Linked DNA regions of Homo sapiens: regions 2, 3, 4, 5, 6 and 7 are each linked to region 1. The links are contacts of gene promoters, found by promoter capture Hi-C in blood cells and fetal thymus (Javierre and others, 2016). All regions are on one chromosome and are shown on one strand. The core of a region is centred on a gene start or on the middle of the fragment in contact, and the rest is flanking DNA. Distances in the headings are between cores, read along the strand shown.

What was found. The method cuts DNA at HindIII sites, captures the fragments that hold promoters and counts their contacts. A CHiCAGO score of 5 or more calls a contact.
Region 2: a contact is called between a fragment that was not itself captured here and the fragment with the promoter of LMBRD1 in region 1, in 2 of 17 cell types (total B cells and naive B cells). The highest score is 7.3, in total B cells.
Region 3: a fragment that was not itself captured here is called in contact with the fragment with the promoter of LMBRD1 in region 1 in 1 of 17 cell types (naive B cells); the score reaches 6.2 in naive B cells.
Region 4: a contact is called between a fragment that was not itself captured here and the fragment with the promoter of LMBRD1 in region 1, in 1 of 17 cell types (total B cells). The highest score is 7.1, in total B cells.
Region 5: a contact is called between a fragment that was not itself captured here and the fragment with the promoter of LMBRD1 in region 1, in 1 of 17 cell types (total B cells). The highest score is 5.1, in total B cells.
Region 6: a contact is called between a fragment that was not itself captured here and the fragment with the promoter of LMBRD1 in region 1, in 1 of 17 cell types (naive B cells). The highest score is 5.4, in naive B cells.
Region 7: a fragment that was not itself captured here is called in contact with the fragment with the promoter of LMBRD1 in region 1 in 1 of 17 cell types (total B cells); the score reaches 6.2 in total B cells.

Annotation. Positions count from the first base shown.
Region 1 is chr6:69,794,654-69,798,773 of GRCh38, reverse strand. LMBRD1 (LMBR1 domain containing 1) reads left to right here and starts at 1,764. Exons shown (of 16, transcript NM_018368.4): 1 at 1,764-1,961. The coding sequence starts at 1,893. RefSeq lists enhancers at 1,843-2,072, 1,701-2,256, 2,383-2,432, 2,257-2,813. The HindIII fragment of the contact is 19,066 bases long and covers 1-4,120 here.
Region 2 is chr6:70,175,133-70,179,252 of GRCh38, reverse strand. It overlaps COL19A1 (collagen type XIX alpha 1 chain), which reads right to left. Exons shown (of 51, transcript NM_001858.6): 42 at 2,689-2,733. Among named protein-coding and RNA genes, the nearest start is that of COL9A1, 130 kb to the left of the region's middle. The HindIII fragment of the contact is 1,463 bases long and covers 1,367-2,829 here.
Region 3 is chr6:70,159,148-70,163,267 of GRCh38, reverse strand. It overlaps COL19A1 (collagen type XIX alpha 1 chain), which reads right to left. Exons shown (of 51, transcript NM_001858.6): 35 at 1,315-1,368. Among named protein-coding and RNA genes, the nearest start is that of COL9A1, 140 kb to the left of the region's middle. The HindIII fragment of the contact is 4,140 bases long and covers 54-4,120 here.
Region 4 is chr6:70,141,781-70,145,900 of GRCh38, reverse strand. COL19A1 (collagen type XIX alpha 1 chain) reads right to left here. Exons shown (of 51, transcript NM_001858.6): 21 at 3,973-4,008; 22 at 3,825-3,878; 23 at 3,081-3,134; 24 at 1,638-1,691; 25 at 894-983. Among named protein-coding and RNA genes, the nearest start is that of COL9A1, 160 kb to the left of the region's middle. The HindIII fragment of the contact is 453 bases long and covers 2,227-2,679 here.
Region 5 is chr6:70,116,628-70,120,747 of GRCh38, reverse strand. All of the region lies in intron 16 of COL19A1 (collagen type XIX alpha 1 chain), which reads right to left. Among named protein-coding and RNA genes, the nearest start is that of COL9A1, 180 kb to the left of the region's middle. The HindIII fragment of the contact is 3,993 bases long and covers 1-3,805 here.
Region 6 is chr6:70,098,992-70,103,111 of GRCh38, reverse strand. It overlaps COL19A1 (collagen type XIX alpha 1 chain), which reads right to left. Exons shown (of 51, transcript NM_001858.6): 16 at 890-943. Among named protein-coding and RNA genes, the nearest start is that of COL9A1, 200 kb to the left of the region's middle. The HindIII fragment of the contact is 3,579 bases long and covers 395-3,973 here.
Region 7 is chr6:70,065,063-70,069,182 of GRCh38, reverse strand. COL19A1 (collagen type XIX alpha 1 chain) reads right to left here. Exons shown (of 51, transcript NM_001858.6): 15 at 707-760. Among named protein-coding and RNA genes, the nearest start is that of COL19A1, 200 kb to the right of the region's middle. The HindIII fragment of the contact is 5,965 bases long and covers 1-4,120 here.

The sequences.
Region 1 (4,120 bases), core at 515-3,014:
AAGACTAGTTAATGGGTGCAGCACCTCAACATGGCACATGTATGCATATGTAACAAATCTGCACGTTGTGCACATGTACCCTAGAACTTAAAGTATAATAATAATAATAATAATAATAATAATAATAATAAAAGAGTGTGCCTGGTTATGTCGTTATCTGGTTGGGTGCAGTCTCTATTGATTAGGTGAACATCTGGTCCCTTTTGGCATGATTCCTTTTGAAATGTAAACAGAATCTTTTTCTAAGAAGTAGTTACTTATGTCAAGGGTGCTCTATACAATCTGGAATAGAGATATCAACCTGGAAGCGATACCTCTCTTCACTTTAAGGAAGCTATGACAGAGGTCTCCAGGGATATGAATTATTAGGAAGAAAGAGTGAAATTCAAACATTTGCAGGTCTAGAGGGCTTAAAGCCAGCTTATGATGGTACCAGTTCAAGTTAAAACTGTATTCTCCCCTATTCCCTTCTTATTCTGTCCAGGCAGGAAGGACCATCCTATTTTTTCCCTCAGGCTTCCAGCCGGAAGTAGATTATAGGTAGAGCATAACTCATCACCACATAATACATTGGAAAAAGATGATGGTATTTTTTCTCAGAGTTGTTTCTTGACTACATCACAGTGGTGAAACATGCACTCACACCCCTGTGGACTCAGGTAAGCCATCCCAAGAGTTTCCTCCCTGTGGACTCAGGTAAGCCATCCCAAGAGTTTCCTCCTTCTTCTTCATTGTGGGCCTATGGCAGTGTGTTTTGTTTGCTGATGCATATACCTTTACATACAAAGCTATCATGGAAATTCACAGGCATGCATACATCTGAATAGAAAGGCTATAACATCATGTGATAAGTTCATGTCCAGCCAACCAGTTATCCCGGCTGGGCACCAGTGCCAGTAAATTAGAGTGATTTGGGCAGCTAGTCAACTTTTATTCAGAGTCAGCTGTCTCATGCGTCCGTGTGAAGAGACCACCAAACAGGCTTTGTGTGAGCAACATGGCTGTTTATTTCACATGGGTGCAGGCGGGCTGAGTCCGAAAAGAGAGTCGGCAAAGGGTGGTGGGATTATCATTGGTTCTTACAGTTTTTCGGATAGGAGGTGGAGTGAAGAGCAATGTTTTGGGGGTAGGGGGTAGATCTCACAAAGTACATTCTCAAGGGTGGGGAGAATTACAAAGAAACTTCTTAAGGGTGGGGGAGATTATAAAGAACATTGATCAGTTAGGGTGGGGCAGAAACAAATCACAATGGTGGAATGTCATCAGCTAAGCTATTTTCACTTCTGTGGATCTTCAGTTGCTTCAGGCCAGCTGGATGTATACGTGAAGGTCACTGGGGATATGATGGCTTAGCTTGGGCTCAGAGGCCTGACATCAGCCATTCTTGCAACCTGGTAAGGAGTTCTGCTAATCACACACATTCCACCTTGTACACGAGGGCCAAACTTCCTTTTGGTGAAGAAGTATAAACCTCTAAAATTGACTTGGATCTCCAGGTCCACCTAGCCCATTCTTTGTGGAGTTCCCTTGCTGTTCTAGTCTATCAACTTAGGCTGAGTCAAATATCTCAATAGGTTGCCCAGCTATGAGCCAACACCCTGCTCTGCAGCCCTCCCACATCTCAGCTTGCAGGGAAGCCAGCGAGGGCAGCGTGGTGATGTCACTGCGTCCGCACGCGCCCCGCCCCTGAGCAGTCCTTGCTGCCCCGCCCCCGCTCGGCTCGCCGCCAGGGGACGCTAGTGGGTCCAGTCTCCTTGGCAACCACTTGCTCCTCCCCCTCCGCCCCTTTAACCTTTAGGGTGCGCGGGTGCAGTATATCTCGCGCTCTCTCCCCTTTCCCCCTCCCCTTTCCCCACCCCGGGCGCTCAGGTTGGTCTGGACCGGAAGCGAAGATGGCGACTTCTGGCGCGGCCTCGGCGGAGCTGGTGATCGGCTGGTGCATATTCGGCCTCTTACTACTGGTAGGGGAGGCGCTTGGAGTTTTCCCCATGTTTGGACTGGGGGAGGAAGGGAGGGGCAGGCCCTGCAGTTGGCCTCTCCGGGCCCCGGAGACCCTCTTCGCCCCGCCCCGCTTTTAGCTTGGACTGTGGAGGGCTCCTTAGTGTTGGGGGCTTGGGCGGGCGGCGGGGGCAGGGGGGTGTCGATTTCCGGTCTCTTTTGCTGTCATTTCACCGATGACGTCTAGGGTTGCAGGGTCCTTTTTGGAAGCTCTTGCCGTCATCGCTGACTTGGGCAATGGGGCCGGTGGGGTTTGGGGGCGGAAGAGACCCTCGGGGTTGAGAAGTATGTGGTGGCCTTTCGTCCCCTGTAAAACATTGTCACACGGTGTGGGGCGGCAGCGCTGGATCTTTGCAAGTTAAGTAGGCGCTGGCGTTGTTTACTTGTCACCTTCTCTGTATGTTTTTTCCCTCATTTTCCCTACCCTTGGGGCTAGTGAGTCTCCAACCTCTGTGCCCATTGTGTGATTCTGCCTTGATGACGTGAGTTGCTCGTTCTGACTTCCAGGTGTCACATTCTCTTCTAATCTTTTTTTGATTGGTGTAGATACCTGTGGAGGGCGGAGCTGTAGCCCTCTTTATTACCAGTATCGGAGTATATACTACTACCTGTCTGACCTCAGGTGCTTTCTTTTCCAACGATCTTATTTCTGCATATTCAGTGAGCAAAGTGTAGATAGAAATGTCTCAGAGTGGCCTGGCTATTACTTCCCTGTTCATATTAAAACCCTTTGGTTTATTTGGGAGTTCAATTTATTTCCTTTCATAACTTCTCTACCTTCTCAAATCTTCTCTTTTCTCATCGTCCGAGGCTGTAGTTACTTTCTGTTCTCACGTATTTTGACCTTTTTGCATTGCAAAACAAAAACCTCCAGTTCTGGAAATCAGGCTTGTTTGGTTTTACTTTAATTGTCAGATCCAGTTGGTGTCTGGTACCTATGTAGTATGTTCTAGTAGATTTTTGCAGTAGAGACTAAAAAAAGAAAATAAAAGAAAAGAATGGTGTGAAAATTTAAGAAAAGGATCCTCTTGTTACTGCCATCACTGTCACAGATAAAAACACTGCCTTTACCCTGGAACATGTTAGTCCTCTCTTGGAGGAAATGAAACCCTAAAGGTTGACTGTGGTCTCTGCAGCCACCCAGTCCTGTATTTGGAGAGCCCCCTGGCTTTTCCAGTCCATCAGATTTAGTTTGTTTAGAAAAAAATAAATAAGCATGTAATGTATGAAAGTTACGTGAGACTATCTTGGCAGTTATAAATTAATAAACATTTACGGTACAGAAGTGGTGTGAATTGTAAGAGGATGTAAACCAAACAAAATACGGCTTTAAAGAGGGCCTGAAGATAAGTGAGAAAACTGAAATTCTTGAAACATGTATTTTATGGACCGAAAGCCAAAGTGTGACTATAAATAAAGCAGGACTTAAGAGAATAGACAACAATATTGGAAGAAAATGAGAATTGTGGTAGAGTTTGGATAGATGAAGAAGAGAGGCCATTTAAGTTGGCAATATTACAGCAAGGACAAATAAAATCAGAATTGAATGTTGTCGTGGATAAAAGCATTAGGAAGAAGGACTTTTGTTTAAATTTCTGCAAATCTCTTTAAATCCTGGTTTATTAGAAGAAAGGCTGGTTTCTTTTGTTGCCTTCTACATTCAGTCTTTTGGGGTATGTTATTTTAGTCGAAGTGTATGGAGAAAATACAGCTGCAATGATAGGTAGTCAGAAACAGAGGAGCGTTTTTCAGATAATTGTGGATGTTTTTTGACACTACACCAAAGCTCAACAAGTGGAAGATTCATGTCAGCTGCAAGGTGGAATCTGAAACCCTATCAATGAGCATTTCATTCATTGTTACATTAAAATCCATTAGCCCATCTTGCACTTTGAAAGGCTCTTTTACCCATGCATGGTTTTATAACATGATGCCATGGCCACTTAGAAAATGTTGGTTTACTGAGTTATGCACATCTTTTAAATATGGATACGTTTCATTACACAATATCAAAATATCACATTTCATTAAATTACAACTGATCTTGTCAGAAATGTCTCTGAAAATTCTAAGTATTGAAGAGTTGTCAAGCTCATACTTGTGGATGTAAGTCTTTCAAAAT
Region 2 (4,120 bases), core at 849-3,348, 380 kb before region 1:
AATGGGCTTTTTTCAACTTGCTGCTTAGAATTCCGGAAGGAGATCCCTCCATAGGTAGAGATACGGTGCTGAATGGCAAAGCTAGGCAGGCAGAAGTTAGAGAGAGCATCCCTGGGTCCCCACAGCTTGCCTGTGCTGAAGTTGTTAGGGGCCTGAGTGGGAAGATGTGTTAGAGCTGAGAAGGCCAATGACCTGAAGGGTCTTATTGTGGGACATGGCGGGTATAGAGGGCTCGGGCCTTGAGATCTGAGACAAAGAGATAAGGGACATTGATGGAAGTCATTCCTAAGGTCAGGTAGGACCAGTGGAGAACTCAGAGCATCCGGGGGAGAGCATGCTGACCGGAGGCCCCACCCCACGACCAGCACTCACAGGCACTTCTTCCTGTAAACCCACACGCTTTCCTCAGAGTAAGGCAAAGAAAGAAGCTCTAGGGGAAATCCCTGGTTAGCCCTGAATATACAGGAAAGGGATAGACCGGTCCGTTCTAGGAAGAGCAGGATTGGGTCCCCTTGGTAATCAGCTGAGTTACCAGTGTCTCTGTGTGGGCAGGCCCCAGCCCTGCTTCAACTAGAACAATCACCATTTTTCGAAAAAAAATTTTTATCATGGTAAAATATACATAACCTAAAGTTTACCCTCTAAACCATTTTTAAGTGCACACTTAAGTGGCACTAAGTGCATTCACACTGTCATCTAGCCATCACCATTGTCTATTTCTAGATTCTTTTAACTATTTTATCTTCTGAGCCGCAGAAGGGCCAGTTATAAAAATCTAACATGCATCTTTAACTGAACATGTTTGTAGTATGTAAATTTTTTACCCTTTCTTATTTATGTAATTGTCAGTCAGTGCTTTTATTTTATTTTATTTTTTGAGACAGGGTCTTGCTCTGTTGCCCAGTTTGGAGTGCAGTGACACGATCTCAGCTCACTGCAACCTTTGCCTCCCATGCTCAAGTGATCCTCCCACCTCAGCCTCCAAGCAGTTGGGACTAAAGGTGCCCAGCTAATTTTTGCACTTTTTGCAGAGACAAGAGTTTTGCCATGTTTCCCAGGTTGGTCTCTAACTCCTGGGCTCAAGTGTTCTGCCCATCTTGGCCTCCCAGAGTGCTGGGATTACATGTGTGAGTCCACTATGCCTAGCCAGTTAATGTTTTTAATTATGACATATGAAAACTGCTTTTTTAGTAAATATATCAGATCTTAGACATCCAACTAAGTGGCAGGCTAGCCCCTTATCTCAATAATGCTTCCTCTTTGAAAAACATATTTGGAATTTCTCATTTGGATTGCCTGTGGCCACTGTTGCACATCTTTTAAATACTTGCAATGGTGGCCAGTATTTTTTCCTAGAAGATAAGCTTAATTTAGGGTAATAGCAAAATGTAATTTGTAGACACACCTGGGTGAACACAATGAAAAAAACTAGACTTTATTTTATCACAAGGAAACAAAAATTCAAATCACAGGATGTGAGTATAAGAGGAACAGGTTGTAAAGGTTCTCTAAGGACACTTCCAGAAACTGATTTCCAAATATGTTGCTGGGAATGGCTGTGAGTGGGGCAGTAGTGAGGGAATAGAATTAAGTGTGTAGTCAACTTTCAAGAATACTTCCTTTTATAAAAAATTTGGAAGAGCTTTCCAAAGAAGATATTTTCATGCTACTTTTACAGTCATACGAATATTTGACTTGATCTATAATGGCTAAGTAAGGGAATGTCATCATCTACGAAGGATGCAGATGATGGATGGGGCTCTATTTTGTGTTGTTAGAAGTTAATGGAGTGAAGTAGAGTGGCTCTGAGCACTTTGTGGGATGGCAGTGGGAGATGAGCAGGGCTTTGGGTGGTGTTGGGTGTCAGTAGATCTCGGTGGGTGACTGTGGGTGGTGATTGTAGGGCCTTTATCTTATCTTATCTTTCTTATATTCTTGTGATACAAGCCCATGGTTTCCATTGACTTTCCTGTAATGTTATCCTGGACCTGCCCTGCAGGAGCACCTAGCAAGAGGATAAATGGCCTCTTATTCATAAAGCGTGACCACAAAATTTTAATTAGAGCATCATGAATGAAGATCAGAATGATCTCTAGGGCTCAGAGAAATAATTTCAACCTTTCCTGGAACACTTCCTATTCATTTGAAAAGGCCTTGATGAGATTAAAACATTTGACACCAGAGAGCAACAAAAATGATTGAGAGGATTGAAGGGCTAGTTTATGAGGAAACATTAGCAGCAATAAAGCTCTGCTAATAACACTGGGCTAAGGAATAACTCAGGCAGATTGCATTAATACAAGGAACTTGAAGTACATGCCTGAGGATAAGAACTCTGTCTTTTGAAGACTGAGAAACCTTGAAATATGACAAGAATAGAGAAACACAATAAACTTTCCAAAGCTGTGCTCATAAATTAATGTATAGTAACTGTGTTTCCTCTCCCCTCCATGAAAGTGACTTGGGAAGAAAATAAAAGAGGACAAAAAACAAAACAAAACAAAAGAAATAGAGGATTGTGGAGGTGGAAAATACAGGTGGCATTATTTATGAAACTAGAATTGTCAGGAACCTAATGCCATGGGAGTTATGGTATGCTCTCCTGCCTGTCTTGATCCCTGGCCACAGGTGTATCATGGAGATAGAACCGTTTACCTGTGAAAATGATGTGAAGTAATCTGAACTCACCGACATCCCTGCTATTCCTGGGGGACCTGCTGGGCCTCGATCTCCCTGTTGGGATTTAAAAACATTGCTACTTTAATGACATCAATGAAGTCTTTAGTTATGAAATTAATTCTCAAATAATAATTTGGATTTGGTAAAGCTTTCCTTTGGATCTGATAAGTGTTATTGATATTAGATGGGGTGAAGCTAGTGTGTAGATGGAAAAATAGCAAACTGAGTAGCTAATTGACAACTGAACTCGTTACAGCTTTTTTATTTTCCATAAAACTAAAGTAAATAATAGTTTTAATGAAAGCAAGCATAATCATTTCTGTGACCTATTTTAATGTCCCCTTACATACTTATAGTTAAATTAGTCAATATTTTTATTCTACATGTTCAAAAGATCATTACTCTTGCTTAAAAGATTAAGCACTTTGAGTGTCTTCCAAAAAGCTTTTCCTATCCTTGTCTCATTGGATATAGAGTTAGAATAAAATGATCTACAACTAATGATTTGTAGTTCTCATTTGGCCAATTAGAAGATCCCTTGAATTGCTCTGAACAACAGAGTGACTCAACTCCTTTTTAAGAGCCAATGTGATATTTTAGATAAAGCTGACAATGCTAAAAATACTAACGACTATATATATGGGATAATAAAATGGCAATTTTTGGGGGCAGAAACTGAATTTAAAAAACTTTACTCAGGGACATAAAAGGCTTGATTTAATGAATGACGAGATATGCTCTGTTCTTGGAGAGCAAGACAATGTTGTAAAGGTGTCATTGCTAACTAAACTAATTTATAAATTTAATGCAATTCTTACAAAATTGCAGTGTGATCAAATGATACTAAAGTTTACTTGGGATAATAACTGAGAGGATAAAAAAATTAAAAGAATAATAATAAAGAGATACTAGTAATACCAACATTTAAACATATAATAAATAAAGCTATAATGGAATATTGGCATAAGATTAAGCAGCATATCAAAATACTATAACAGAAATATCAGAAACAGACCGGCATTTATAATAGGATTTTATTTAACAAACAGTTCTAATAATTGGATAATTTCATTGAAAAAAGTTTGCTTCTTCTCTTTACATTATATCCCATATGAATTCCACATAGATTTATATAAAAATAAAATAATATACATTATAAAAGAGCTCAAAGAATATATTAGTGACATTCTGATTTTGGTTGAAAATAAAAGTAGAAGTCATTTTGTGCATAAAACCAAAACAAGAAATCATAAAGAAATATAGTGTTAGATTTGACTACATTAAGGTTATATTTACAATAAGATTAAACGTAAAAATGAAAGGCAAAGATCAACTAGGATGAAAACTCCAACACATGAGATAGAAGTAATGTCTTTAACGTATGGAGCATAGCCATCATCAAAAAGAAAAAAATAACTGATAGAAAAATGGGTAAAGGACA
Region 3 (4,120 bases), core at 874-3,373, 360 kb before region 1:
AACTTACACATTTTGAAGGTCATTTGATCCTAATTAAATAAGCCCTAGAAGCTTATGTTTCTTCTGGCTGATACAGCAGCTGTATCCTGCTGATAAGCCCTTGGAAGGGTAAAATTTGTATTTGTGGTCGCTTTTTCACCTTCGTCAACCACATTTAATGACCTTAATTGGAACCTTTTGATACACTTAAGAATCTAGTCTTGCTGTTTAAATGGCAATTTACATAACATTATGCCTTTCTAAATGAGCTATAGTTTTGGTAGGGATCAACATTTTAAATACTTCAAGGCGGCAGAATTAACAGTGTGCATATTGAGTTCTATGATCTGCATTTTACCACTGAAAAATAAAATTTAATTTTAATCCTTTGGGAACAGAGTTAGCTATAATTTTCATGGTTTCTTTCACAACTCTTTTTCATCGTTTTTAATTTTAGTGAACAATTTAAAGCCAGGTTTGTTCTGTATAACTGTGGCGGAAGCATAAATGACACAACTTTAATTATGGAAAATCCTTATTTCAGAACATTAAAATATATAATTACATTCCTACTGGTGTGGTAAAGACTCTATTGGCATAGGAACTCTAAGAAAGGATGAGGTGGAGAAGTTGAAGCATGTGCTGGGTTGCCAGATTTAGCAAATAAAAACACAATATTTGGGATGAACTTATATTAAACAATTATTTGTTTATCTGAAATTCAAATTTAACTGCATGCACTATATTTTATCTGATGACTCTAGAATTAAACTGTTTGAATGAGAGATTGGGTTTGGCAAGTATAAAGCAAAAGAGATTCTGTTCTAGGAAAACAAGACAGTGAAAGACACGAAGGCTTTGATGGTGTGTTTGAGGGGCAGTGAAAGCCTTGACTAAAATAGAGGTATTTTATTTTATACATAGGAACAAAAATAAATGAAATCTGATAATCCTTAGCACACTTTTTTTTCCTTTAGAAAATAAATTCTCAGTTTGTGGTGCCATTTGACTATCTCTTCTAAAGGTTAGTGCCAAAAAATTATAAATAAAAAATAGAATGCTCTTTTATATGCAATTTCTATTTCAAACACACTAGCTTAATCGCAGACTGCTTTCTGGTCTGGTGGAATTCTGAGGCAAGTCCCCAGGACACTGAGTAGCCTTAAGTAATACTAAATGAAAATCTGAGAGCTTGGATGAGGCTACTTTTCCAGGCAATATCTGGACAATCTACATAGAGGCACAGAGAACAAAAGGCAATGAAGAAAATTAATTCACCTTGCATCAAACCAGCAGATATAAGCTGTGAGTGCAATCGTTTTAACAAATACTTACAGGGGGTCCAGTCGGGCCTGGAGCACCTGGAATGCCTGGAATTCCTTGAAGACCCTGGAAAAGATAGTTCCCATCATAAAATCTGTTATATCATTGGGAAGAAGGCATTTTAGTTAATCAAATATTTTGACCATTGAACATTAAACACTTATTTAGCTAATCGAGAAACATAATGTTTGTCATATACAAATATACTTTTTTAATTCTAATTTTTTAATTTCAAAAATAAAAATTTTTCTTTAGGGGTGCAAGTGATTTTCGGTTATGTGGATAAATTGTATAATGGTGAAGTCTGCGATTTTAGTGCACCCATCACCCAAGTAGTGTACACTGTACCCAATAGGTAGTTTTTCATCCTTCACACCTCGCCTATACTCCTCACTTCTGGGCCTCCAACGTCCATTATATCACTCTGTATGCTTTTGCGTACTCATAGCTTAGCCCTCACTTATAAGTAAGAATATGTGTGAATACTCAGTTTTAAAGAGTAAGAAGGGTGAGCTAAAATGCCATGACATGGAATCTGAAGCAAACATAATTTAATCTGGTGATTCATAGAGCATTTCTTATTTTATAGGGCCACTCCGTCAGCAGTAGTATCTAAGAATCTCGTACTGGTAAAACATGGAAATACAAATTTTAGATTGGCAGAATGCCATTGAAGAAATAGATGATTACACTTAAGCTCCATTCAGCTAGGGAAAAATGGAATATGTTTTATGATATAATATTTATTTTAGCTTGTCAGTTTATTATAAGAAGAAATTTGGCTCACTGGTGAATTTAAATTTGGAACGCTTTAATGGCTTAAGCATAATAATGAATAGATTTCCCCTCCCTCCCCTCCTTAGATTTGTAGAATAGCACTAATTATACCGGATAGGATTTAAGATGCTGATACATTTATATATCAAGGAAGAAATGGTAAGATTAGCTAACTTATGTAATTAGTTTTGTTACTTTGATACATTTGCCAACAACAGAATATTGTTAGATAAATTACATACAATTTATAACATGAAATATTTTGCAATTATTAAAATCATGTTTTAAAAAAGTTAGAAAACATGTAAAAATAAAGTCACAAATCTTATATAGCACAGGGTCTAAATTTTTAAACAATTTTAAATGTACTTCCTAAAAGATGGGAATGATACATACAGGCTTTTATTATTTTATCACGACAAATAGATAAGTTTTATCAGAAACTTTAGTGTTAGATGTGTTTTAGAATTCTGGATTATCACTTCATTTCACAGGTAACATGATATACATACTGAATATTATATCACACTGCAGTGGTGCCTGAGGCAGTGCCCTCTAATAAACACACAAATATTTCTGTGGCAAAACATGATATTCTGACAGAGTGGAATAGACAAGCTCCGTGTGAGTTAGGCCAGATTGGGCTGCCAAATGAATTTGCTTGGGAAACAAAGCCAAACTTGGGAAACATTTCCAGGGTTTTCAGAGGCTTTGGTTTTGGAATTTATAGATGAGGTGTTGTTGATATGATTTGGCTCTGAGTCTCTACCCAAATCTCATCTCAAACTGTAATCCCCACATGTAGAGGGAGGGAGGTGATTGGATCATGGGGGTGGTTTTCCCCATGCTGTTCTCATGATAGTGAGTAAGTTCTCAGGAGATCTGATGGTTTTGTAAGTGTTTGGAAGTTCCTCCTTTGCTCTCTCTCCTGCTGCCTCGTAAAGGTGCTTGCCTCCTCTTCACCTTCTGTCATGATTGTAAGTTTCCTGAGGCCTCCCCAGCCACGTGGAGCTGTGGGTCAATTAAACCTCTTTCTTTTATAAATTACCCAGTCTCAGGAAAGTTCTTTATAGCAGTGTGAAAATGGACTAATAGAGTTGTGGACCATGACATTACTATTGCCAGAAGTCCCTCCTGGGTAGTGGGAATAGGGAGAAATTTTATCTTTTAGTGCATTTTTGTATTTTCCCAATTTTCAATAGTGGACTGAGATCACTTCTATTATGAGAAAAAACTATTTTAAAATATGCTTTTGTTATTTCAGATAACCATGTGATACATCAAGTTCTAGACTGAATGATTCCATTCTTTCAGGATTTAGTCTCCTTTACTGAGTAAAATATTCTTTCTGGATTGCCATACCATTCTTTGTCATCATACAATTCCTTTACCTTTTACTATTATGATATATGCATTTTCATATACTTTATAAATATTAGATGATGTGGCCATGGAAACATTACTGCATATTGATTATCAGCATTCTATAGGACTGTGAGCTGGATCAAGTTTCTTTGCATCAGTGGGATCAAGGACCAAGTTCTTCTAGGTTTGTCCATTCAATGCCAAATGGCATCATGTGTTACTTCAGGTCTATTCATGTGATATGATATGAAGAAGGGCTTAAAAATTCTACTTGAACATGCTAGAATTCCTCATAAGTCTTGGGCCAAATCTTGTGTGTATTGGTGTTAAAGAATGTTGACATATTTTTCTTCAAAATTTTATCAATCTCATTGGCAGTGCTGTGTGTGTGTGTGTGTGTATGTGTATGTGTGTATACATGGGCATGTGTGCATGTGCAGGCTCTACATATCGGTATGTGGTACTCATTCTTTTTATTCCCCTAACATTAACTTGTATGCAGGTTTATAGATGCAAAGTAAAAAAATTTTCATTGATAATGGCACCTCTAAATGACTGGAGATTATAAATGTTATACCATAAATTTCTTTACCTCAAAATACCCATATTTCCATAAAATTCTTTCTATATGTACATGCATAAAATATACGTATATATGTATTCCTTTTTTTTTTTT
Region 4 (4,120 bases), core at 1,204-3,703, 350 kb before region 1:
AAAAATATAAAAATCAGCCAGGCTTGGTGGTGTGTGCCTGTTGTCACCACTATTCAGGAGGCTGGGGTGGGAGGATCACTTGAATCCCGGAGGTGGAGGCTGCAGTGATCCATAATTGTACCACTGCACTCTAGCCTGGGTGACAGATTAAGACCCTGTCTCAAAAAAAAAAAAAAAAGAAACAATAAGATGAATAGATGAATATTTCTTTTTTCCCCTGACTTTTATTTTAGGTTCAGGGGTATATGTACAGGTTTATTACATGAGTAAATTGCATGTTGCTCAGGTTTATTGTGTGAATGATCCCACTACCCAAGGAAGTAAGCATAGTGCCTGACAGTTTTTCAACCTTGCCTCCCTTCAACTCTCCCCCATCAGTAGTCCCCCATGTCTTTTGCTCCCATCTCTACTATGTTGGTGTGCAACCAATGTTTAGCTCCCACTTATAAGTGAGGACATGTAGTATTTCGTTTTCTGTTTCTGCATTAATTTGCTTAGGATAATGGCCTCTAGCTATATCCATGTTGCTGCAAAGGACATGATTTTGTCCTTTTTATGGCTGCATAGTATTCCATGGTTGTATGTATCACATTTTCTTTATCTAGTCTATTGTAGATGGGCATGTAGGTTGAATCCATCTCATTGCTACTATGAATAGAGTTGCAATGAACATACGAATACATCTGTCTTTTTTGTAGAACTATTTATTTTCTTTTGGGAAAAGAAACCCAGTAGTGGGATTGCTAGGTCAAATGGTAGTTCTGTTTTAAGTTCTTTTTTCCTTTTTTTGCAGACCTAAACTTATTCCCATACTTGTGATCTGAAACTAGGAACCCACAAGTAGTAATTAATGAACTTGCAAGAAAAATATTAACAAAAGGGCTAATACTTACTGGTTCCCCTGGCAGGCTTTTCCCTGGAGGACCAGCCTCACCTTTTGGACCTGGAAGCCCGGGAGGGCCTATGATCCCACCCGGATCTCCCTGTAGAAAACAAGGTAAGATTCTTACTTTGATGCTCAGGTTCATGGTGGGAAGTGAGGAGGTAGTGGTTTCCATTGTTTTAAGTTGTCATCATAGCCAGTCAAACTTCATTCATTCACTCACTCACTCACTCACTCACCAACTCACTCAATAATATTTATTGAGTACCTAATTCATGCCTGTTCAGTGCATTTAGATTTTGCAGTTAGTTATGTTAGCAGTATCATGAAACATATGCATGTGTATGCACAAAAGGGCATATCTATTAATAAATTTCTATAGACGATCTTTATGTTTTCTTTAAGTTATTCTCCAATAATGGTTCAACGTTAATGCACTGTTTCCATGTAGATATCAAGAAACAGATCCTGCAAGATTAAGAGACTTCTTAGGTTTATACCAGGATTGGTAACTGAGCTTGACTTTCAGACTCCTGATATCTTCATCTGTCAGTTCATTTTGTCACATGGCATTCCTGTGCCAGAACCAGGGCTGCCAAATGCACAACTCTAGGGGGTGCCATTTACATTGTAGTTAATGTGCACAATCTGTACAATCCCAGAAGCCCTGGGCTGTCCTTTCATCTCCCTTATGATCCTCTGTCTCTTCCTCCTATCTACTTAACATATAAAATGAGGAAAATGTAAACTATACCTTTTCTCCTTTAATGCCTTGTTTTCCTGGGATACCATGTTCTCCTGGCAATCCCTAGAAAACTCAGAGTTAATAGGAAAGAGTAATGAGAACATCTCTTACAATAACATTTCCCTATATCTGTGAATCTCTGTCAAGAGAACAGAATTTTAACATATAACCTATTAATAGAAGGAGTTGGATTGATTTTGGCCTTTAAGACCTGGAAAAATATTAGTGATTCTACGTGGTTTGTTGTTTCAAGTGAAGCCACCTGGATGCCATAGGAAAGAAACTAAAGTCGAATTGAACCGAACGTCTCACCCATATTATTGCCATCGAGGAAGGATGGTGGTTGGCAGCATCACATAATGATTCCAAAGAACTCTAGGGCAACTAGAAAAATATATTTTTACTATGTTTTAGAAACAGTGGCTCTTTCCCTTTAGATTTTGTTCTTTTTATAGCTCTGGCCACTATCACTTAGTCTCAGTTTTTGAGCATTGTGGCTCCACTTGTGCCACCAGGATTATCTCTCTTTTCATAAGATCTGTCCACTAGGTTTATCTACAGTGGCCCATTACTTGGCATAGGGGAGTGATCAAAAGCTTTGCTCTATAAACTGGGTGTTCAAAGTACCAAGCAGAATATGTGCACCGACTAGTAGACAGGAGAGGCTCAAGCGGTGAGCATGGAGAATAGAATGTGAGGTTAAGGGGCTGTTCCCAGGGCATGAAAAAAGGAGAGATCCTAAGAGTTGCCTGGAGGGAACTCTAATCATAGTCAGATAGTGATCAGTCTCCAAGGAGTTATGGCCAAGGATTTTTCTTATTTTGCTCAAGTGTGAACTGATGGAGAGCTCGCAGCTCCCAAGTTGTCAGAAGGCTAGAAAGTTGTCCAAGGAACAAAAAGCTGATCCGGATAATGAATAGAAAGGTGTATTGAGTATTTTAAGTCCACTAAAGCTAGGTTATAATGCAATCTGTCGATCTTCCTCCAGACATACTTTTAGCCAAAAGACTTGCTTTTTTTGGAAGGCTTTTGCTAGAAAATGATAGAAGCTTTCGAAATGTCTTCCTTAGATGGAGACTTGAACTAAAAACTGTGAATATTGAAAATGTTTGCTTTCTCTTTTGGTGTTCTTTATTTCTTTTGACATTTCCAATCTCCTCTACTGCTGGTACAGCACTGACAAGCATGTCCAAAATGACAATTTGATTAACTTGAGCTCCAAAAACCAATTTATTAGGCTAATGATACTCAAAAGGACCTCACATGATTATATGAAGGGTCTAGTCTTCCCAATAGCTCCTGACATTAGGTATGATCAGTTTTTGTGGCATAGATGACCCATGTCTTTGGGAAATGAGGGATAACTCAGTTACTTGAACACATGTTGATGTTTTTAAAAACATGTCCTAGTCTCAATTTCAATTCCAGAAATATCAAAGACATTATACATACAACATCTCCTGGCGGTCCTCTGGGTCCCATGGAGCCTGCAGATCCTTGCTGACCCTAAAATAAAAGGTGGTATATACTTTAGCTTTGCTAAAAAAGAAAAAAAAAGATAGATTGTACCTGAGTATTTGTAAAGAATAGTGTGATCTTCATGTATAGGAAGACCAACTTTCCACCATCCCACTTTCCCACTTTATCTGTATAATACTGAAATGTGCTTTGTGATTACCAAGATAGTTTCCAGATACTTTTAATTTATGTGTTCTCACCAGCAGGTGATACCTGGTAACTTGCCCTACCCATTGTCTGGGAGTACACCACATTAATTTCTCCTGCATTTTCCAAAAGCTGCTCTCTTGGGACACTCCTGTGGAATCCCACTTGGGAAACTCAAGCAACTCAACGTTGCATAATTTTGGTTTAGAAACTGAAACTTGAATTCTGTTCCTTTTAGAATATAGCTCAAGGTCGTAGATTTAGCTCACATTGTTTACTCTTAAGGCTTTTAGGGATGCTATTGTGAATATGCTCTGAAAAAGAGTATAGAAATCCTATTGTGAAAACCAAAAGACAGTTACTATGCGTGTAATAAATGCAGCCAGTGGGGAAAATCACCATGGAAACAGGATAAAGTCTTGGAGAGCATTTGTGAAGAAAATGAGTGGCATACCAAAGCACCATGTTTTACACAGAATGGCTACAATTCCCAAATTATTTCCCAAGAAATCTTAGTTATTTCTTATATACCTTTAGTCCTGGGCTTCCTATTAAACCAGGGGGTCCGGGATCTCCAGGTTCACCCTAAACACGTGGGGGGAAGGAAAGATCAATGTTTCTTTAATTTTCATAATCTCATTAAGGTTGGAGAGGAAATTGAAGAATGCCAGGAAATTACCTTTACTCCCTGTGATCCTATTACCCCAGGTTCTCCCTGTAAATAAAATAATTACTATAAGGGTAATGCTTAAATTCAGATGGAAATGGACATCTCTGATACTTTAATTGAATTTCTACTAATTAACATACAATAAAAAGGGAAATTA
Region 5 (4,120 bases), core at 560-3,059, 320 kb before region 1:
CAAGAATGAGGTGATGGATACTTAGAAGCAGGCTGGTATAATTCTTGAGAAAATAATGGGCCTCACAAGTAATGGTGTTGCCTATGATTGGAAAGACAAACGATGCTGTTACCATGCTGAAACAATAACGGAGCTATTGTAAGAAGAGAATTCTTATGGCATTATATATTTTTCATGCAACTTTTCAGCAGCCAGCATTGTGTAAAGAATTCTAGGTCAGTTAGAGGAAGTAAAGAAAGAAAGCAATCATTGAGTGGGGGGGTTGTTACACAAAGTATCTAGCCAAGAACATGCAAGTTAAGATCTTATTCTTGAAAGTCAGGAGACATGAAGTTCCATACATGTTGATCCTTCTGCAAACATATAATGAGGCAAGGAGGAATTTTAGACACCATATGTAGTAGCATTAAGAGGTGGCTTAGGGGTATATGTATAGTAGGCATTCAGTGAGTGTGTGTTGATGACAAGGCTGATTAGATCAAAGAACAGTGATGAAGTAGGTAAATTTAACTTCATACATATTCAATCTAGTTAAAAGAGAGGGTCTTAATTATTAGAACTCTTAAATATAGCATAAAAATTAATAATACAGTCTCCCAAATAGAGTAGCAGAATCAGTCAAATAATAATAGCAAACTCTTTTTGTTGTTGTTTTTTGAGACAGAGTCTCACTCTGTCACCCAGGCTGGAGTGCAGTGGCACGATCTCAGCTCACTGCAACCTCTGCCTCCCAGGTTCAAGGGATTCTTGTGCCTTAGTCTCCTGAGTAGCTGGGACTACAGGCATGTGCCACCATGCCTGGCTAATTTTTGTATTTTTAGTAGAGGTAGGGTTTCGCCATGTTGGCCAGGCTGGTCTTGAACTCCTGACCTCAAGTGATCCACCTGCCTTGGCTTCCCAAAGTGCTGGTATTACAGGCGTGAGCCAGCGGGCCCGGCCAATAGCAAACATTTATATAGTGCTTATTATGTGCTAGGCATTACAGCAGGAATTAACTAATTTAGTCCTTACAATGACAGGAGGAATGTCCCATCATTCTCTCTGATTCAAAGATAAAGAAAATGAGGGTTGGAAATGTTTAACTGGTCCAAGGTCACACCACTGGTAAGTGGCAGGGCTAATATTTAACATTAGCATTGGGCCCAAAGCCAGTTCTCGTCTACTCTACTATCTTAACTTAAAGGCAAACTCAGCCAAAAATCACTTTTGCAGTAATTTTCTTATCATGATGATGTGTGTACCCTAGAGAATACTGGGTGATCACTCTTCTATGTTCTATTTACTTTACTGAAATTGAAAAAAAATCAACAAAACTTCTACGTAGCACTTCTGCCAGGTACTTCACAGTGCTTGGTGCAGGAGGCGGGAAAGTGAACACATTACCTTTAGCTGTAGTCATACCGTGTAGTTGAGAGAGGCCTCTTTATCTACTCCTTGTATCTCCCATCTATGTTCATACAGTCTCTTAACCCATGTTAGGGAGATTATCCCTGAATATTACAAAACATTTCTCCTAGTCTGTGACTGTATTCAAATGTATCCTATCTTTGTTTGTAGAGGTTGGGAGAGCAGGTGGTCTGAGATACAAGAAGTGTGAAGCCTCCCAAAGGGTTCTGGGAGGCAGTAAGGAAAAGAAGCAAGAAAGCAAATGTGTTGTAGGGTTTGCACAGAATAAAACAGGTAGCAGTGTAAGTGAGAACAGTAAAAAACAATAGAATGATAATGATTTGTAAAAAATTGGGTGAAATGGGATATGATCCTTTACAGACTGGTCATATGCACACAGAAGATAGCTGTATTTCATAAGCAAAGTATATACTTCTCATGCAGGATCCTGATCTGGCTGCTGCTGAGCTTACCACTGGGGGTGGGGTGGGAGAATATGCACGGCTCAGTGCAGCTGCTCCCTCTAAAAACAAAGGCAAGGGCACAACTCACTAAAAACAATGCCAAGAGCAATGAGGCTACAGAAAAGGTTGAACGTTATTATTCAAATATCCACAAGATTAATAAACCCATAAAAATTACTTCTACATTTTCATATGTTCTGCTTTTGTCACAAAATGTCTTATCTTCAAAGTAGTACTCGAAATGGGTTTGATCTGAAGTTTTAGGTTCTACCACTTAATCTCATCATGAGTATTTATGATGACATTTTCTTTCTCACTTTTTTAGTCACTGGGATAGTTTGGGTACCACAAATTGCAAGTTTAATGTGACAGAAATTTACAGCCAACCGTCTACCCTGCAGGCAATACTTTATACAAACTCTCCTAGCGGTCCGAAGGAACCCTTCAGAGACTAGAAAGAGATGCCAATTAGAGTCTTCTGGAAGTCCCCCTCTACTCTGACTATAGTCAGTGAGGCAGTGTCTCACTTGGTTGCTCTAACACTGTCAAAGATAGTGGTCATTAATAAGCTATAAGCATTTAAATTGCAAAAGCAACTCTGTTTACAGTTGGAACACAACCTTGGGGTTTCAGAATTGGTGGCTATCCTACCAGCCACATCCCAAGAGATGTGCTATTTTTCTATCTTCTATTCTGGTATGAAATATGGCTGGAGAAGATCCAAGGAGTTGTCGCCAAGTTTAGCAAGAGTTGTCTATCCTGCAGACTACCAATCAACTCCAAGAAAGAAGTTAAAGACTTGTGGTAAGTGACAGATCTCTCGGCATCACATGGTGGTGTAGATGCTCTAGGGCAGTTGACAGAACCCTTTCTCTGAGGTTTGCATTTACAAGGACCCATCAAAAGACACTTAGATGACCCAGGTCCAGTGGTGAAGAGAGGCCAACTGCAGAGGGCATGTCAGCCTTGGCTTATGCTCTTAGGAGCTCTGCTAGGAAAAGTGGTTAAAGGTTTATGGAAAGGAAAAATGTCCCAATATCTTGCTTATAACAGTGACCCACAACATGATTGTACACAAGTCATGCCTATACAATGTCTGTTTTTTACGGAGATTTGCTTCACTCTATTTGTATGGGATTGGGAGATATAGGACATCTGGATTAATGTGGTGAGTATACAATTACAGAGCAGCTAAAATATGCTAATGAACTCCAGGGAGAAACAACTGTTCTGAACCTAACTGTACTGATTCATAATTATCTGAGAGGCCTATAAACCTGGTGTGGATAGAGATCCTGATGTCGTTTCTTACTGCAAAGAACTACAGCAGGTGTGATAAAGTGAATTAAAGCTATATTCAATTTGGGAAGTATATACTCTCAGCAATAGTTCTAGCAGCTTTTAAATAGTTTTTGGCTTAAATCTTGCTGGAGGTGGAAAACAGAAATACCATGATGTCTGCCACCGGACTTGTCAGACACGTAGTGTAAAAATGATGAGCTATTTGCATTATCATTCCCTTAGTAGATTTCAGTTTTGGCTGCACATTCCCAAAGTTTAAAAGTTGGGAAGAGTTCTCTGTTAAAAACCATAGTCCTTAGTCCTAGTCTTAGCTGCATTTTCACTTTTTAGCCAATTCACCCGGTATACTTAGCCTAAAGAGCAATATTTTTGCCTTTTTTTCCCTGACTGTTCTTTGCCATAAGCTGTCTGTGCAAGTCAGAGCTTGAGCCTTCTGATCCAGCTTTAGCACACTCTGCACATTGTGAATCAGGAGCTCTGTGGCTCCTTAGTCAAATCGCCTGCTCACTCTCTGATCCTCAATCTTGAACTATTTTCCTTTCTCCCTTTTCTCTAAAAGTACCCTGTACCTCTTCATCTCTGTTGACTGAGTCTCCTTGAGCCATCCAGATGCCACTTATGCACCATAGCTCTTCAATCTCCTATTGGAAGCTTTTTTCTGGATTCAAAATTACATGTTTTCAGGTTACACACAGCTGCTTTTGGCCCTGTGGGTTTTCAGTTAAATTCAAGAACAATCTTTGAAATACCAAAAACCTCTGTGAAGGAAGTTGTACTAACCAACTCTCTTCAAAAGTGCTAAAAAATCGCTTTTCTGTAAGAACAGATAGAATGCTTGTTGGAAAGTCCTTTGGACTAATTTTCAAGAAACATTTCCAGTGTTCTAATGGCTTGTAAAAAAGTAGAGATCAGTAATTATTTTTCCCTTTGTATTCAAGAAAAAAAAACAGTCATTAGGAAGCCTAAAT
Region 6 (4,120 bases), core at 935-3,434, 300 kb before region 1:
AAAATAAAGGAATGTACCAGCCTGGGACTCAGCAACAATGTCTGGGTTGAAATAAAAAACTGGCATTCATTAATCCATCCAACATGTAGGGGGTAGAAGAAAAGCTGTTAATGGAGACAAAAAGATGGCCCCAGGCATAGGAGAAAAAAACCCAATGTTGCTAAACCAACAGAATAGGGAGTTTCAAGGAGAGAGCAGTCAATAGTATACATTTCTGTGTAGCAGTAAAGTAAGAAGAAGCCTGAAAAGTGCTCAGGGAATCTGCAATGCAGAGATTGTTGGTGACCACAGAGAGTGCAGTGTCAGTGGAGCAGCTTGGACACAAACCAGACTCTCATAGGCTGCAGAGTTACCAGAACTACAAGAAATTGAATATTTTTTTTTTCTAGAAGCTTGGGGTAAAGGATCCAGATAAGCTAACTGGTTAGATGATCTTTATAGCACTTTTTACCAAATCATGAAATTATACTAACAAAATAGTTTCATATCAAGAAAAGTGGATATGCTTCCCCAGATGTCTGATTTTCTAACAGCCTGGATGTTAAGAAATCTAGAAGATGGTGTTCAGGTAGGTTCAGAACAGGATTCATCTATCTGGACACTTGGCTTGGGATGTTCAAGCAGACACTACTGTTATTGCCATTTGTGTAATAAAGAAGTGGGTGAGGTGTATGGACAATTACCAGCCTCCCTCATCTCTTGGTTTGTGGTGATGATGGAGTTAGGAATATAGAGAGTATGAACTACTCATCCAAATGCTGAAACCAGTCATTCTAAACAGTAGAATAAAGGAAATCATTATCTACAGGGGAGTAAAATAATCCTTAGGTAAACACACAGACATAAAGACAGACTCTTTAAAGGGACAGTCATTGTATTGTTTACTCACAGGTGGTCCTGGGGGTCCTGGTTTTCCGGGAGGTCCTGTTTTCCCTCGTCTTCCCTTGAAACCAAAGAAGAATAGATGATAAATACTGTGACTCCATTATATTTTAATATCAAACAATATTAAATGGGAATATTGAAGACAGTAAAAATGAACAGAAAGTTAAGAAACAATTCCAATTCCACATGACTTTTAAATATCAATTTTAAAAGCTGTGGGCCAATTTTTAAGGACCATAATGAGAAGTATAGTACCTGAAATGAATAAACCTTAACTTTTATCAGCAGCCCTTTAAATGCTATCTACCTTGGTTCTTTAGCAAAGTAATATAAAGTATATGAAAGATGGTCTAAGATGGGTATTTTATCTGATGATTCTGTGGTTTCGGATGCAATAACAAGTACATCTGTCATCTTATGTTGGTGTTGTCCAAGAGGGGTCTGAATTCTAATTTTGTATGAGTTATTTGAGGGTGAGTTTGGGTGTTAAACATGCATATTCCTGGACTTCATCCTAGAATTCACGGTTTAGAATCCCGGGGGTCGGAGCCACGAATCTGCATTTTTAAAACTACTTCAGATAATTTTTATGCTCACTAAAATTTGGAAAGCACTGCCCTAAGCCCTATTGTAATTACATATACTGAATGAAGCACATTAGCTCTTTTCTTCCCTTTAGATGGTTAAGCTGTTTTTATAAGTGAAGTAAAATGTATAATTCTTGCATGTTAATCTTCATGATTACAACCAAATATTAACTCTCCCAAGTTCACAACTAGCTAAATTCCAATCGCAAGATGTTGTGCTAACCTCTCTAAGTACCCGTGAATCTAATAACATTTAAAAAGCATTTCATTATTTATTATAAAATTATTTTCTTAAACATTTTTTATTTTTTAAATTTTTAAAAGAGGGAAGTGAGCTTAGGTATTGAAAGCATACATTTTGAATGAGAAGCATTTATGAGCATATGTTTTCTAAATATGGTCACTCTATTTCATTGTTACTAACAATTCTATTTGATTATCACATTGGTAAACTGTCTGTACATATTAAGCCTTATTGATACTTATAAAGTAAAGATATTAGGTTGATCTTTTCAATGCTTTTTTGGGGGAGAATTATAAGTGTAGGCACAGAAAGGCCCATTTTATTCACCAATTTTCTTGCTCTGAAAATGTCAGGCAAAGTTGCCTGATTCCTCTGATTTTCATCTAGTCTTGAAGTGGGGTAGGAGGTCTAAATGCCAGTTGAAACAGTAGAGTAAGTTTTCAGAGATAAACAAGCAAATACAATGCTGGGATTGGATGAGAAATGTGTCCATTGTTCCTGAAGGGAAATTAGGTGATACCATCAAAGACTTTATATGAAAACAGCAGCCTTTTCTATAAATAGCCCTAGTTAACATCTACAGAACAGATTTAAAATTTTTTAAAAATTAAAAACATAGGCTAGGCATGGTGGCTCACAACTGTAATCCCAGCACTTTGGGAGGCCGAGGCAGGCGGATCACCTGAGGTCAGGCCAACATGGAGAAACCTCATTTCTACTAAAAATACAAAAAAAATTAGCCAGGCATGGTGGTATGTGCCTGTAATCCCAGCCACTCTGGAGGCAGAATTGCTTGAACACGGGAGAATTGCACTCCAGCCTGGGAGACAGAGACTCTGTCTCAAAAAAAAAAAAAAAAAAAATTAAAAACACAAATATAATTATTAATAGTAGTGTTTTCTCTTATCTTTCATTTTATAGATCTAAACCATGCAGTTCTTTTGGAGGATTGTAAGATTGAAATGAACATATAATTTAATATTCTCTATACTTAAAACAAGTTATACACATGTACACCATGTTCTAGTCTTGCAGTTTACATTTTCTGAAAATCAGTATATTTGGTCTTTTAGTAAATATAAGTAAATTCGCCTCTGAGGACTAATCAATGATAAAAAGTTTACTTAGAAAGTGGAAACACTGTAATTTATTAATTCACAACAACACAAAGAAACTAAATCAATGGTATCTAGGTAAGTGATTGGTTCTTTCCTTAAGCATACATTAGGTTGAGGTAAGTTAAAACCATAGGATCAACTTTAGTTTACATTCCCCTTTCTTCAAAGGAGTCATGTATATTGATTTGGGCAGGAAGCGGGGAAAATGAAGCTGACTGTTGATTAACTTTTATCGCAGAGTTAATGTTGAAACAAACCAAATGTCAGATATTGTAACATAACATTGGCATGTGTTAAGATGAGGAGTAAAAAGCATCCAAGATTCAGGATATGGTGAGGGCAAGCATCCAGATTCCTGCACTTCACTGCTGATTTCAGCCAGCCTTGCCATTGTCAGAGTGTCAGAGTGTCAGTGTGCATGCTGGAAGAGGGCAGAGAGAAGGCTGATTTTGCCGAGTGGACATGCAGGTAAAATATTTTTGGGGGTTGCTAAGTAATTGGAACATATTGTGTGCACACAACTTTGGCCAGCACATATTTTCACATTAAATGTAGTTTCTAGGCTTGAATTTCTATTAGCACCTTAAATCAGATTTGAACAATTTTTAAAGATGTGCTATACAAAGCAGTGCAGTTACCTTTTTGTTAGGCTTACCACCAAATACATACAGGTTGATTATCATCTGTCCCAAAGTGCTTGGAACCAGAAGTGTTTTGTAATTTTTTTTTTGTTTTGGAATATTTGCATATACATAATGATATATCTTGGGGATGGGCCCCAAGTCTAAACATAAAATTCATTTATGTTTCATATATACCTTATCCACATAGTCTGAAAGTAATTTTATGCACTATTTTAAATAATTTTGTGCATAAAACAAAATTGTGACTGTGTTTTGGCTGCAACCTGTCATGTGAGGTCAGGTGTAGAATTTTCCACTTGTGGTGCCATGTTGTTGCTCAAAAAGTTTTGGATTTTGGAGCATTTCAGATTTCGAATTTTCAGATTAGGGATGCTCAATCTGTACTAGAAACAAGATTCACCTTAGGAAAAACTCTTGAGACTTAAGTCTCAAGTATCAGTGACTTGTGGAGGATAGAGGAGAGGGGTGGATGGATGAGAAATGTGGGTGGAAGCTTTAGAGCATAACAGAGCTATGGGTCCAGGCAGGGCACAATCTCTTTTTTTCTCAATTTTTTTTTTTTTTTTTTTTTTTTTTTAGAGACAGGGTCTCACTATGTTGCCCAGGCTGGTCTCGAACTCCTGGACTGAAGTGATTCTCCGG
Region 7 (4,120 bases), core at 685-3,184, 270 kb before region 1:
CCTGTACTATTTAGTACAAAGACTGCCATAAATAAGCACATGAGAAAGAACACACAAGATTTTTTGAGACTTTAAAATGGTTTGAAAATGATAATAATAACAGTAAAACACAAGAATGGGGTCCCCACTGCTCATATGAAGCTGACCAGTTGTCATAACACTGCAGGGCTTCGTTTTACTGTGGAATGATGAAATTGAACTGCACTAGAAATAGGAGGTTATTGCTCTACTACCAATTCCAACGATGATTTATTTGCTTACTATTTTGTCTCAGTTAAAGGCAATAAATGGCAATGAAAGGAGAGTTATGAAAAGCCAGTGAAGTCAATAATTTAATTTGGATAAAGAATGTAGTTAATATCCACAACCTTTATGGAATTAATAAATAGGCTAGACCTCCACAAAGATACTCATCAACTTAATTCAAAAACTAAAAGTATGACCAAAGTAGTGTAGATCAAATTAGGGCTAATTCATTTTATCCAAACAATATCTCTACACTTGTGCTGCCAATCTTGAAAAATATAGAATTTTCTGAATTGCAAAACCTCTGTCAAAATCTCGAATCTCAAATTTCAGCCTTTGGATAATTGATACTCTCCATATGCCCATCTGCTTGCTCTATTTCGGTTTCATTTTCATTAGTGTTCCCAAATAAGTATCCCCTAAGTTAGTAATGCCCACCAGTTGTTCCAGCTTTACTTACCCTCTGACCCTCTTTTCCAGGTGGACCTTGGGGGCCTTGTATCCCCAGGGAACCCTATGAGGAAAAAGAGACACATGTTAATACACTGTTTCAAGTACACCTGCCTCACAAAGAATGTTGTGAAAATTAATAATTATTTTGTTGATTAAAACAAACTTTTAAAGTAATTTGAGCTCTTTCAAGGTTGAACTATATAATATATTAATAATGATGAATTGCCCTTCTTTGACTGGCTTCTTTGTAGCTAACTCCAGAAAGAAAAAAAGGCAGACCCACACCAGGTGTGAGACCAAATGTTCACCGCCAGTGAAGAATCTCATATGATTGGAACCATGTTTCAACAAACCACCATAAATAAGTGGTAACAATATTTGCAAGCAGAAAAAGATACCTCTTTATACATTTAAACTCTATAAATAAAATTATATTTTTGGTTGAGAGTAGCTTTTAAAGTATATTCTAAGGAAATGCATGATTATGGTGTTGGCTTCAAACATGCCTACTCATAACATTGAACTTTTAATATTAAAAATATTATTTACTGCTTTCTTGTAATAATATAAAGTGGTAGGGAAAATAAACATTCTTTTTTTTTCAGATCATAACAAAGTCCTAGGAAATCCCAGGTATTAATCTGAAAGTCAAGTCTCCTGATTCTTATTTTAGACAGAAATTCTTACTCCACATGAAATTAAAAATGATGATATTGCCATTCAAAAAAAACTTCAGCAGTTATGACTACTTCTTTCCTGCTGCTTCTTTCTTCCCTAATCAACCATTAAATGCGGGAGATTTTTGTCTCATTTTCTTCTCAGTCCACATTCTCTCACATTGATCTCACACATCTGTGGGCTTTGGATTCTCTAGACCAGCAATTCCCAGATCTACAACTCCAGTTTATCTCTGAGCTGCATTCAGACCCACGACGTGCTTGATGGAACCACTGCTACCTCACAGGCATCCACAGTTTACCCCATCAAATGCTGAACTCAGGATCCTCCCTCCAGAACTGGATCCTCTTCCACCATGCCCCAAATCAATAAATCCATACCACACTCTCTTCATGCTCATGCCAGAAATCTAGAACTCATTCTCCACATTCAACTCTCTTAAACTTCTCTCTCACATACAGTTACAAAATCTTGTTGGCTTTATCTACAAGATACGTTTGGATTCATCCATTTCTCTCCACTCCTGCTGCTCCCATATTCTTGCTCATCTGTAAGAGCTTCCTAGTTGAAGCTACACATTCCTCCATCCATTCACATCACAGCCAAACTGATCTTAAGAAAACCAGGCTTGATCTTCCCTGATGTACCACTTGGAGACAATGCCTTGTTTCAGTCTCCTAGTGCCTTGCACTTTTTCTCTCAAGTACTTACCACTAATTCATTTAAGTGATTATTCATGTAATGATTTGTTACTCTCACCAGGCTCTAATCTATAACAGAATCTATATTTTATTCATCACGGTATGTGCCTGTTACTGGCCAAATGACAATTCACATGGGGAACTCATCCACTCCAATAAAAGTTTTTGGATAAAGGCAGTAATTTTCAAAAAGTTTTCCAAATATTTATAATTCACCCATCATCTATTAAATGCCTTAAATGGTTTGAAATAAATGAAAAATCTGATAATACAAATGCAAATAAATGTAAATTTATTCCCCTTATTCCAGAAGAAATTCTTTTGTTATCTAATTTAAAAATAATTAACATTCATTTTTATAATATGACCTTTTTCTAAAAAGTGATGGCTACGTTGAAACTAAAAGGCCAGATGTACTTATCATGATCCATAGTTACTTATTATGTATATATTCATTTTTAATTTTTTTCATATAAACTAAATTTTCTTTTATATATATATAGTTTTATTATACTTTAAGTTCTAGGGTACATGTGCACAACGTGCAGGTTTGTTACATATGTATACATGTGCCATGTTGGTGTGCTGCACCCATTAACTCATTATTTACATTAGGTATATCTCCCAATGCTATCCCTCCCCACTCCCCCCACCCCACAACAGGACCCAGGTGTGATGTTCCCCTTCCTGTGTCCATGTGTTCTCATTGCTCAATTCCCACCTATGAGTGAGAACATGTGGTGTTTGTTTTTTTGTCCTTGTGATAGTTTGCTGAGAATGATGGTTTCCAGCTTCATCCATATCCCTACAAAGGACATGAACTCATCCTTTTTTATGGCTGCATAGTATTCCATGGTGTATATGTGCCACATTTTCTTAATCCAGTCTATCACTGTTGGACATTTGGGTTGGTTCCAAGTCTTTGCTATTGTGAGCAGTGCTGCAATAAACATACGTGTGCATGTGTCTTTATAGCAGCATGAATTATATTCCTTTGGGTATATACCCAGTAATGGTATGGCTGGGTCAAATGGTATTTCTAGTTCTAGATCCCTGAGGAATCGCTGCATTGTCTTCCACAATGGTTGAACTAGTTTACAGTCCCACCAACAGTGTAAAAGTGTTCCTATTTCTCCACATCCTCTCCAGCACCTGACTTTTTAATGATTGCCATTCTAACTGGTGTGAGATAATATCTCATTGTGGTTTTGATTTGCATTTCTCTGATGGCCAGTGATGATGAGCATTTTTTCATGTGTCTGTTGGCTGCATAAATATCTTCTTTTGAGAAGTGTCTGTACATACCCTTTGCCCACTTTTTGATGGGGTTGTTTGTTTTTTTCTTGTAAATTTGTTTGAGTTCTTTGTAGATTCTGGATATTAGCCCTTTGTCAGATAAGTAGACTGCAAAAATTTTCTCCCATTCTGTAGGTTGCCTGTTCACTCTGATGGCAGTTTCTTTTGCTGTGCAGAAGCTCTTTAGTTTAATTAGATCCCATTTGTCAATTTTGGCTTTTGTTGCCATTGCTTTTGGTGTTTTAGACATGAAGTCCTTGCCCATGCCTATATCCTGAATGGTATTGCCTAGGTTTTCTTCTAGGGTTTTTATGGTTTTAGGTCTAACATTTAAGTCTTTAATCCATCTTGAATTAATTTTTATGTAAGGTGTAAGGAAGGGACCCAGTTTCAGCTTTCTACATACGGCTAGCCCGTTTTCCCAGCACCATTTGTTAAATAGGGAATCCTTTCCCCATTTCTTGTTTTTGTCAGGTTTGTCAAAGATCAGATAGTTGTAGATGTGTGGTATTATTTCTGAGGGCTCTGTTCTGTTCCGTTGGTCTATATCTCTGTTTTGGTACCAGTATCATGCTGTTTTGGTTACTGTAGCCTTGTAGTAGAGTCTGAAGTTAGGTAGCATGATGCCTCCAGCTTTGTTCTTTTGGCTTAGGATTGACTTGGCAATGCTGGCTCTTTTTTGGTTCCATACGAACTTTAAAGTAGTTTTTTCCAATTCTGTGAAGAAACTCATTGGTAGCTTGATG